Linked DNA regions of Homo sapiens: regions 1 and 3 are each linked to region 2. The links are contacts of gene promoters, found by promoter capture Hi-C in human tissues and cell types (Jung and others, 2019). All regions are on one chromosome and are shown on one strand. Each heading gives the region's core, a stretch centred on a gene start or on the middle of the fragment in contact. The rest is flanking DNA. Distances are from core to core; before and after follow the strand shown. Region 1 holds the start of TDRD12 (tudor domain containing 12). Region 2 overlaps TDRD12 (tudor domain containing 12). Region 3 holds the start of SLC7A9 (solute carrier family 7 member 9).

What was found. The method cuts DNA at HindIII sites, captures the fragments that hold promoters and counts their contacts. A contact is called where the count stands out against the background at its distance.
Region 1: a contact is called between the fragment with the promoter of TDRD12 here and a fragment that was not itself captured in region 2, in 4 of the 25 tissues and cell types used here (H1 embryonic stem cells, mesendoderm cells, pancreas and 1 more).
Region 3: a contact is called between the fragment with the promoter of SLC7A9 here and a fragment that was not itself captured in region 2, in 3 of the 25 tissues and cell types used here (aorta, bladder and spleen).

What each region holds. Positions count from the first base shown.
Region 1 is chr19:32,717,976-32,721,661 of GRCh38, forward strand. It overlaps TDRD12 (tudor domain containing 12), which reads left to right and starts at 1,792. Exons shown (of 33, transcript NM_001366102.1): 1 at 1,792-2,121. The coding sequence starts at 2,098. The HindIII fragment of the contact is 27,705 bases long and covers 1-3,686 here.
Region 2 is chr19:32,787,332-32,790,902 of GRCh38, forward strand. TDRD12 (tudor domain containing 12) reads left to right here. Exons shown (of 33, transcript NM_001366102.1): 12 at 3,200-3,260. Among named protein-coding and RNA genes, the nearest start is that of TDRD12, 69 kb to the left of the region's middle. RefSeq lists an enhancer at 192-486. The HindIII fragment of the contact is 4,950 bases long and covers 1-3,571 here.
Region 3 is chr19:32,868,107-32,871,868 of GRCh38, forward strand. It overlaps SLC7A9 (solute carrier family 7 member 9), which reads right to left and starts at 1,661. Exons shown (of 13, transcript NM_014270.5): 1 at 1,580-1,661; 2 at 342-539. The coding sequence starts at 428. RefSeq lists enhancers at 1-524, 1,966-2,488, 2,489-3,011. The HindIII fragment of the contact is 18,950 bases long and covers 1-3,440 here.

The sequences.
Region 1 (3,686 bases), core at 542-3,041, 69 kb before region 2:
GCCTGGGCAACACAGCGAGACCCCCATCTCTACAAAAAAATTAAAAAATTATCCAGGCGTGGTGGTGCATGCCTGTAGTCCCAGCTACTTGAGAGGCTGAAGATGGAGGATCAACTGAGCCCAGGAATTCAAGGCTGCAGTGAGCCATGATTGTGCCACTGCACTCCAGCTTGGGCAAGAGAGCCATATCCTGTCTCTTTAAAAATAAAATAATGAACTTGTAACCACCTAATGGGTTCACCTTGCCCGCTGCCTAGACAGAGCCAATTTATCAAGACAGGGAATTGCAATGGAGAAAGAGTAATTCACGCAGAGCCGGCTGTGTGGGAGACTGGAGTTTTATTATTACTCAAATCAGTCTCTCCGAGCATTTGAGGAACAGAGTTTTTAAAGACAATTGGGCGGGTAGGAGCTTGGGAAGTGGGGAGTGCTGATTGGCCAGGTTGAAGATGGAATCAGAGGTTGTTGGAGTTTTTCTTGCTATTTACTCTTCCTGGTTGGTTTGGCAGAACTGGTTGAGGCAGATTATCGGTGTGGGTGGTGTCAGCTGATCCACTGAGCTGATTCAAGGATTGTTGTCTCATGCCTCCCTAAAATGTAAAAGACCAAGTGAGGCAGGAAAATAGGGTCTGGAGGTAGGGAACATAAGGCCGATTCACGCTTCAGCTATAAGGGGAAATACCCTCTCCATAGGGCATACACCGAGTAAATGACTTCGTAACTTTACTTCACCGTCTTCATTTACATCGGGCGTACCCCAAGCAGAAGGTATTTAAATTCACAGAAATTCTGCCGGGCCTTTGAGTCCCTGTGTTCAGGCCTGCTCCCACACTGTGGAGTGTACTTTTTCAATAAAACCCTTCATTCCTTCCTTGCTTTGTGTGTGCCTTTTGTCAAATTCTTTCTTCAAGACACCAAGAACCTGGACACCCTCCAACTTTAACACAAGCTGTGCCTCGACCACGTCTAGCAAATGTCGTTAGGACTTCCTGTGTCAGGGGCGCCTGTCCTCAACCTTGGCAAAATTTTTTGTTTTGTTTTGTTTTTTGAGACAGAGTCTCACTCTGTCGCCCAGGCTGGGGTGCAGTGGCCTGATCTCAGCTCACTGAAACCTCTGCCTCCCGGGTTCAAGCGATTCTCCTGTCTCAGCCTCCCAAGTAGCTGGGATTAGAGGCGCTCCCCACCATGCCAGGCTAATTTTTCTATTTTTAGTAGAGACGGGGTTTCACCATGTCGAGGATGCTAGTCTCCAACTCCTAACCTTATCAGGTGATCCGCACCCCTCGCCTCCCAAAGCGCTGGGATTACAGGCCTGAGCCACCTCGCTCTGCTGGCCAAATAAACTTTCTAAATGAACTGAGACCTATCTCACATTTTCAGGATTCACAGGCTCTTATCAATTTTGTTTCAGAGTCAAACCATGGACTGAATTCCTTCCCAAGGTTAGTTGGGCTTCCGCCCAGGAATAAACAAGGACAGCTTAAAGGTTAGAGGCAAGATGGAGTTGATTAGGTCTGATTTCTTTCACCATCACAATTTCCTCAGTTACAATTTTGCAAAGGTGGTTTCCAACGGACTCAGCCGCACGCGGCCCCTCTGTCCCTCCGGGGGACAGGCGAGTGTCCCTGGGGCCTGCAGGGCAGTCCTGCTGGCTGCAAAAGAGAGAATCACGCGACCCCTAGCCGGGCCTCCCAGGGCCTCCGCGCGTCAGTCCTCCTGGCCACCGCGTGGCGCTGTGCCTTACGTTGTTGGGCCGTTGGGTGGACCACGTGGTCTCCGACGCCTCAAGGCCTGCTCAGCGTGCGCGGGCATCCGGTGGGTGCGGGAGGCCCGAGGCCAGGCAGGCAGGGATCCCGCAGCGAGGGGCTGGTTACTGCCAGGACGGAGCGCATTGCCTCGAGCCGACCCCGGGGTCCGCGAGGGCTCCTGGGGACGAGGAGTGTGGGGCACCTGCCGCGGGGGGCCCAGGCGCTAAAGGTGGAGGGAAGGAACGCACTCGCGGCGGGGGCCTGGCCGGGGCGGACGCAGCCAGCCTCACCCGCGACGGTAGGGGACTTCCAGGGCGAGGGGGCCCATCTGCCCTCGGGCGCCAGGAGGATGCTCCAGCTCCTGGTGCTGAAGGTGAGCGCCGCCAAGCCAGACCCACGCCAGACCCACGCAGTCCCCCACCCCCACCCCAGCCGCGCACAGCCTCCCACCCCCACCCCAGCTCCGCACAGCTTCCTACACCCACCGCAGCCCCGCACAGCCTCCCACCCCCGACCCCAACCCTACACAGCCCCCACCCCTCCCCCCATCCCAGCCTCCACATCCCTCCACACCCACTCCTCCCAGCCCACGCATCCCCCCCATGTCCACTCCCTCTCAGCCCACACCTACTCCCCACGCCCACTCCTCCCCCAACCCACACATCCTCCCACACCCACTCCCACCCAGCTCCACCCCCACACTCACACATGCCCCCACCCCATCTCACTGCTGCACACTCCATCCCACTCCCACACATCCCAACCCCGTATATCCCATGCCGCCACACCACGCCCCCACTCCCACCCCACTCCCACCCCAACCCATCCCACTCCCAACCCCACACACCCCCAACTCCTACCCTAGCCCCAGCTCCCACCCGTTTCCTTATCGCTGCCCACCCCACAGTCACACCCTCGCCCCTGTCCCCACCCCATCCTTATTCCCACCGCCCCCACTCACACCTCCACCCCAACATTTCATCCCCCCACACTCAGCCCCACACACCCCACCACCACCCCATCTCCACTCCCACCTGCACCCCAGCCGCAGCCCACCCCACCTCCACTCCAACCCCACCCCGCCCTCCCCCACCTGAACCCTCCCTGCGCCCCCACCAGGGGGCACCCCGGGCTGGGAGCTGGGGTAGAACCCGGATGAGCCCGGGTTTCACGGGCCCTGGCGTGCTCCGGGATGCACCTGGAGGAGCGCGGAATTGGTTGCTCCTCCGAATGCTCGATCACCCGGGCCAAGCGACACTGGCGTCCCCAGGGCCCCGCTCTCCGTACTCCACGGGGCCCTTAGGCTCGGCGCCTGGACAGGGTCGGGTGGCCCGGGCAGCCCCAGCCCATGGGTCCGGGCTTCCCTCATGCCCCCAGTCTCTGTTGCCCTATCCGCTCACCGCGTGGGCTCTGCGTGGGCGTTGTTCTAGTCCTCGGGGAAGGGACGCCCGCCTGGACCCTTGCTTTTCCCCCTTGGAGTCCAGTGAGGGCTCATTGGTGAAGGGGAAAGCGTTGCTGGAGGAAGGAGTTGACAGGCCAGAGCAGAGGGGTGGGTATGGGTTATTGGAGAAAGGAAATCTAAATACTTTGAAAATCACACTTCAGTGGGCCCAGGAGCTGGACGTAGCAGATTGTGGGATTGTTTTATTTTATTTTATTATTTATTCATTTATTTTTTTGAGATGGAGTTTCGCTCTTGTTGTCTAGGCTGGAGTGCAGTGGTGTGACCTCAGCTCACTGCAACCTCCGCTTCCCGGGTTCAAGTGATTCTCCTGCCTCAGCCTCCCGAGTAGCTGGGATTACAGGTGCCTGCCACCACACCTGGCTAATTTTTGTATTTTTAGTAGAGACAGGGTTTCACCACGTGGCTGTTCTCGAACTCCTGACCTCAGGTGATCCACCTGCCTCCGCCTCCCAAAGTGCTGGGATTACAGGCGT
Region 2 (3,571 bases), core at 353-2,852:
TCGGCCCCTACTGGGAGATGTCTCCCAGTCAGGCTACACATGAGTCAGAGACCCACTTGAGGAGGCAGTCTGTCCATTATCAGAGCTCAGGTGCTGTGCTGGGAGAACCACTGCTCTCTTCATAGCTGTCAGGCAGGGACGTTTAAGTCTGGAGAAGCTGTCTGCTGCCTTTGGGTCAGATATGCCATGCCCCCAGAGGTGGAATCTGGAGAGGCAGTAGGCCTTGCTGAGCTGCGGTGGGCTCCACCCAGTTTGAGCTTCCCCGCTGCTTTGTTTACACTGTGAGCATAGAACCGCCTACTCAACCTCAGCAATGGTGGACACCCCTCCCCACACCAAGCTCCCGCATCCCAGGTCGATCTCAGACTGCTGTGCTAGCATCGAGCAAGGATCTGTGGGCGTGGGACCCGCCGAGCCAGGCACAGGAGGGAATCTCCTGGTCTGCTGGTTGTGAAGACTGGGAAAAGCGCAGTATTTGGGCAGGAGTATACTGCTCCTCCAGGTACAGTCAGTCATGGCTTCCCTTGGCTAGGAAAGGGAAACCTTTCCCCTTGTGCTTCCCAGGTGGGGCGACACTCCACCCTGCTTCAGCTCACCCTCCACGGGCTGCACCCACTGTCCAACCAGTCCCAGTGAGATGAACCAGGTACCTCAGTTGGAAATGCAGAAATCACCCATCTTCTGCATTGATCTTGCTGAGAGCTATAGACTGGAGCTGTTCCTATTTGGCCATCTTGAAAGTGCCTGCTCTTTTTTTAATCTCTTTGTCTTTTTGCTTTACTTTTTTTTTTCTTTTTTTTTGTTTTTTTGAAATGGAGTCTCGCTCTTTTGCCCAGGCTGGAGTGCAGTGGTGCGATGTCGGCTCACTGCAGCTTCTGCCTCCTGGGTTCAAGTGATTCTCCTGCCTCAGTCTGGGATTACAGGTGCCTGCCACCACACCTGACTGATTTTTGTATTTTTAGTAGAGACAGGGTTTCACTATATTGGCCAGGCTGGTCTCAAACTCCTGACCTCAAGTGATCTGCCTGCCTCGGCCTCCCAAAAGGCTGGGATTATAGGTGTGAGCCACCACACCCAGCCTGCTTTACTTTTTGGAATGATTTTACAATTTTGTCCTCTACTCATTTTATTGTGTTTTTTATTTCTAATATCACGTTTTTAATTTGCAAGGGTTTTCCTTTTGTTCTCTTTTCTCTTTTCTTTTTCTGACAGTGTCCTGTCCTCGTTTCACATATATGGTAGTTTCTCTCATTTCTCTAAGGAGACTAATGATTTTTGTGGGGGAGTTTTCTTCTCCCTACACTGTTTCTTTTTTTGCAGGGTGCATTACTCGGTTTTTAAGGCTGGAGGCTTTCCTTAGATGTCATGCAGTCCTTGATTGTCTGCCTGTATTTCAACGTAGAGGCCCAGTGAGCCGGTGAGGGTCTCTGAGTGTGCCAAGCCTGTGGGCTGTGGGTCTCTCTGGGGAGCGAGCTGCTGTGAGTACAGGGACCTCTGAATTCCGTCCAGATGCCCAAGGGAAGGCTTCTCCTGTCTCTGGCCCCTGGGGCTAAAGACCTGCCTGTGTCCTGGGAGCTGAGTGGGAGGCACAGGCTGGGTCTCACTGTCCTGTGTGTGCTTAGCCTCCTTCTTTTCAGTTCAGCACCTCTGTTTGCAGCTAGGCCTACAGCCCCGAGTCCTGAGAGTTCTGCTTTATCCTCTCCAGAGAATCAGCCCCTGGCCTTCCTCGGGTTGGGGTGAGTGGCCGTCTGGTGTGGAGTAGTGTAAGGTGATGCAGAGGTTCCCCCCTCTGCCACATTGCTGCAGCCAGGGAGCCTGCCCCTAATTCCTAAGCTTTCTGAAGGTTGTTCTCTGCAGATAGGGTCAGGCCTCCCGCGGCTGGCTCAGGGTCAACTGTCTTGGGGCTGTTACCAGTTTGTCCATCTGTTTTTTAGCTTCCAACATTCTGTTCTGGAATATTGTCTCTAAAACATAGCTTTTTTGAAATATGATTCATGTACCCTTTTTTCAAGTGTACAATTCAGTGATTTTTAGTGTATTCACAGAGTTTGCAACCACACAAGTAAGTGCATACCCATTAGCGGTCACCCTCCATTTTCCTCCCTCCACATCCTTTGGTAGCCAGCTGTCTGCTTTCAGTCTCTATGGGTTTGCCTGTTCAGGACATTTCATATCGATGGGCTCATACGGTGGGTGGGCCTTGGTGACGCTGGTTTCACTGCACAGTGTTTCCAAGGCTCATCTCTGCCATATCATAAACTAGCACAGCATGCCTTTTCATGACTGACTTATATTCCATTGCGTGCATGGAGTGCATTTCATGTACCCATTCATCAGCTGATAACAGTTGGATCTTGTGGCTTTTGCATTTGAAAATCCATTTACAGGGCCGGGCGCAGTGGCTCACGCCTATAATCCCAGCAGTTTGGGAAGCCGAGGCAGGCGGTTCACCTGAGGTCAGGAGTTCGAGACCAGCCTGGACAACAATGGTGAAACCCTGTCTCTACTAAAAATACAGAAATTAGCTGGGTGTGGTGGTGGATGCCTGTAGTCCCAGCTACTCAGGAGGCTGAGGCAGGAGAATCTCTTGAACCTGGGAGGCGGATGTTGCAGTCAGCTGAGATCACACCACTGTACTCCAGCCTGAGTAACAAGAGCGAAACTCCATCTCAAAAAAAAAAGAAAAAAGAAAAAACGCGTTTACAGGAATGAGGCTTTAGGAAGGAGCGCAGTTTGCCATGTGTGTAACCCACCATCTTTATCCTGGAGTCCCCGCCATGTCTGTGCCTTGTGACTTCTCTGTGACTGCCACTGGCCTTACCCATGTTGGGGTTGGGCTGGATCTAGAGGAAAGCAGTTTCAAATTTCTTCTCCTCTCAGCAGAGGTGACTGTGGACAAGTCCTATCTGGTCTTGTTTTCTCATCCATAAAATAAAGATAGTAAAGTACACTAGTGATTCCTGAGCTTGGCTGGGGCCCCTCAGATACTCTCAGGGGGACCTGGGTGGCAGGGTTGTGGCAGCACAGGTACAGGCCCTCATGTCTCATAAACCAAGCAGAACAGAACAGGCAGCAGTTGTACAGCTGAGCCTTGGGCTGTGCAGCCCCTGCTATCTCTGTCAAGGAAGAACTAAAAGAATAGCTCAACTGAGGAAACAAACACCTTTTTCTTCACATTCTTCTTTTAACTATCTTACAGATTACTGCAGTTTTTAAATCCTGATCCTTTGAGAGCTGACGGAATCTCTGATCTCCAGCAGGTATTACAGGCCCTAAAAAAAGTAAAATAAAAAGAGAGAAAAAACTGTTTATTCTTTAAATCCTTCTCCTTCCTCCCTCCAGACTTGAGATTAGAAGAGAAACTCCTTAGATGGGGGACTTAACCTGAAGACATCCTTTTAGAAACGATCGAATGGATTGTTGCTTCTGAGAAATTGTTCCTTGTTTTTTGGATAATAAACGATCTTCCTTTTGGTAGTTTGGTGGTTTTTTTTTTCTTTTTTTTTAAGTAAGCATATATACCCAGGTGTTTACATTGAAATCTATATTTTCTTCATTTCTGTGAAGTTCT
Region 3 (3,762 bases), core at 411-2,910, 81 kb after region 2:
TGTAATCCCAGCTACTCGGGAGGCTGAGTCAGAAGAATCCCTTGAACCGGGGAGGTGAAGGTTGCATTGAGCCGAGATGGCAGCACTGCACTCTAGCCTGGGTGACAGAGCAACACTCCATCTCAAAAAAAAAAAAAAAAAAAAGAAGATGCAGAATTCCCTGGCGAGAGGGAAAGAGAAGTAAGTCCAGAGATTATCCCTTTAAAGATGTACTTCACAAATCAAAGAGTACATCTTCTGCCGTGTCACTAGGGATCGGCCCGGATTTCACTGCCTGCGCCCCTCGTTCAGACGCCCTTGCCTAACCTGCAAAGGGCCTGCCCCACCAGAGACCGCCTTACCTCCTTTTGGAGACTGGTGGTCTTAGGCTCTTGGCTCTGGATCGACTTCTCATCCTCTCTCCGCTTTCTCAGGCCAGTATCCCCCATGTTTCCTCCTGCTGGTTCCAGGAGACTGCAAGGAGGGCGCACAGCTAAATCTTGGTTCAGCAGCAGCAGACAAGACGCAAGTGCAAGCTCGGCCTGGACTAGGGGAGCTGGCTGCAAAAGCACAGTGTTGGTTATTGCTGCAGGTGGGGGCCGCTGCCAGTCCCTCAGGGCTCATGCGCTGGGCCCCAGAGTCAAAGTCAGTCATTAACATTGTCCAGGCAGGGGAACACAGCTCCCCGCTGCTCTCCAAAGCTCAGCTGCTTGCTTAGCTCTCTCCCAGACAGGCCCCGGGAGCCTCCTGGCCCACGTGCCTGTGCCTTGAAAGTCATTCTACCTCTATGGTCAACTTCATTTTTTTTCAAAAGTAAAAAGAAATATTTAACAACATCCCGGGCTGGGCACAGTGGCTCAGGTCTGTAATCCCAGCACTTTCGGAGGCCGAGGTGGGTGGATCACTTGAGCCCAGGAGTTTGAGACCAGCCTGGCTAACATGGCGAACCCCGTCTCTACTAAAAATGCAAAAAAAAAAAAAAAAAAATTAGCTGGGTGTGGTGGTGGGTGCCTGTTAATCCCAGCTACTCGGGAGGCTGAGGCAAGAGAAGCACTTGAACCCTGGAGGCAGAGGCTGCAGTGAGCCAAGATCATGCCACTGCACTCCAGCCTGGGCCACAGAGCGAGATTCTGTTTCAAAAAATATATATATAAAAAATTAAAAAATGAAAATATTGTGGAATGTATTTATCAGAATCAAGTCCAGGTAAGGAGTGTCTGTCTTATAATTCCTTCCCAAGATTAAAGGCACTCCCATACATCACAGATCCACAATACAGGTACTTTTTCTTTGTACTTTTTAAATTTTTACAATATTTTTTATAAAGACGGGAGTGTTGCTATTTGCCCCGGCTGGCCTCAAGCAGTCCTTCCACCTCGGCCTCCCAAAGGGCTGGGATTTCAGGGGTGAGCCACCACGCCTGGCCAGGTACTTTTTCATTGAGTGATGAAAGGAAAGAAAACATTGCCGAGGAAACCCAGTTCCAGACTGAACTAGGAGAAAACCATGCACTCCTGTACCCTCTCTCTAAATAAATTATCTGTCCAGGCCCCGGCCAGGAGAGCCATGAGCCTTTCTATCACCTACTGACCTTACTTACCTTCCTCCGTGACCCTGCAGAGCCGGAGGAGCTGCGGCCCAGCTGACCGCCCGTGCCTGCACGGTCCAACCCTAGAAATGGCCATGTCTTGTGCCCAGGAGCAAAGGAAGTCCAGAAGGTACAGAGGTCAATAAGGGTAATTATTAAACACCTTTTTTTTTTTTTTTGCAATGAAGCTTAGATACGCCACACAAAAAAGGGGAGGGTCAGGAACACCAATTTCTCTCCAAAACCGTTTTTGTTTTGTTCATTTGTGTCTAGGTCAGATTATTTTTTTAAAACCAGATGGTCCCAAATCGTCTACACTTTTTACCTAAAGATAAAATAAATTATGCCTTCTTTTATCTTTGGGAATCAGAGGAGATAAACTTTGGAACCAATTCGCTAATTGCCTTAATAGGCTATATTTAAAACCCAAGTCAGGCAGCTCAAACAGGAACCGCTGTGTGTGCGTAACTCAGCTGTTGGTCAGTTTCCTCCCCGCCCAGGAATTTCCCCCAAGCCAAGGGCCTGCCTCTGGCTGAGCAGGTGAGAGCGGCTGAGCCCGTCCCACTCCTCTTTACCAGTGATGGGGCTTCACCACTTGGAATCACAAGCAGGCCTGAGGCAATGCAGGGCCTCGTGTCCTCCCTGCAGCTGCGGCCAAATGCCCATCAGGTTTGGCTGTGGTGCTGTTCACGTAGCCATGTCCTGGCTCATCACAAGGGACACAAAACCTTCCCCTTCGGGGAAACGGAGGGGGACAGGCAACACAAGGCCAGGAAGCTCCGGTCCGCATCCAGGGCTGCCAGGGTCTGGATCTCTCTGGGAGGGAGCAGAGGTTCTCCCGCACTGCGATTGGACCTAGGCTCAGGCGGCAGCCTCAGGGGTCAGCACGAAGCCCTTTCAGATAGGGAAGGAAGCACCTTATGAGACCTTATGAGACAGCCTGGCACAGCATAAGCACTGCATCTGAAGCATCGTAGCTGTTACCTTCAGCCAAAACTCTGGTAGCTTTGCCTTGGGCCAAACTTAACTGCATCCCAGATATCAGATGGAAGCAAAGGTCAGGGATGGAAGGAGCTGGGCCAGTCTCTGGGGGTCAGTTTGGGAGCAGTTTGGGGCAAGCAGACCTGAGAGAGGCACAGGTTTCTCTGAAAGCCGTCTGCAGAGCACAGGGACCCTTGTTGTCCCAGAGGCACGGTCCTGATTTAGAAGTTCGTCACCTCCCATCTTGGGAGGGCCCACCTGTTTACCTGCCTGCCATGCCCAGAGCCCTGAGCAGAGAGGCTAGTGGCAGGTCCTGCCACCCTAGACAGAACCTGCCCACCGGCTTGCTGGGGTCACTCCTCCTAATGTTGCAGCACTCATCATAGTACCTGGCACATCCATGTTTGCAAAACACCACAGAATACCCCCTGGGTCAAAAGTGCTCCTGGCAGGCTGACAGGAGACCACGTGAGGACATCAGGGTGGGGCAGTGGTCCCCCGCTGGGGCCAGACAGCCCTGCAACCTCACCCACTACCCACATGGGCTCAGGCAGCACTGCCAGGATCAGGGTCTGAACCTGCGACGCAGGGCGAGCAACAGGCGCCTCCTCACGGAACACACTGAACTTGCATGTTCCATGAATGTCCGGGACCAGCCCTCTGGTCTTCCTGGGCCTCTTCCAAGTGCCGAGTCTGGAACATCGGGATGTGAGGGTCCTTTGTTAAGTCAGAAACCTCCACTTCAGTTCATTTTGGGTCCACGGTGAGCATTTCTTAAGCCTGTTTCTTAAAGTTGTGTTTTTCACCGCAGTCCCACCCTCTCCCTCCCTTGAATACACAGAAAGTATTCAAGTAATTCTCATAAGCTCTTCCTCATGGAAAATAATACGGATTTCATTTAAAAAGCAAAATTTTCCTCAGTTCTTGAAGACCATTGGTTCATTGTGTATCCAGTGCTTCTGCCATGTGACTGAAGTTTCACCTCCCTGCTGTCAATTTTTTTTTTTTTAGATGGAGCCTCACTCTGTCGCCCAGGCTGGAGTGCAGTGGCACGATCTCAGCTCACTGCAACCTCTGCCTCCTGGGTTCAAGTGATTCTCCTGTCTCAGCCTCCTGAGTAGCTGGGATTACAGGCATCCACCACCATGCCTGGCTAATTTTTGTATTTTTAGTAGAGATGGGGTTTCACCATGTTGGCCAGGTTGGTCTTGAAC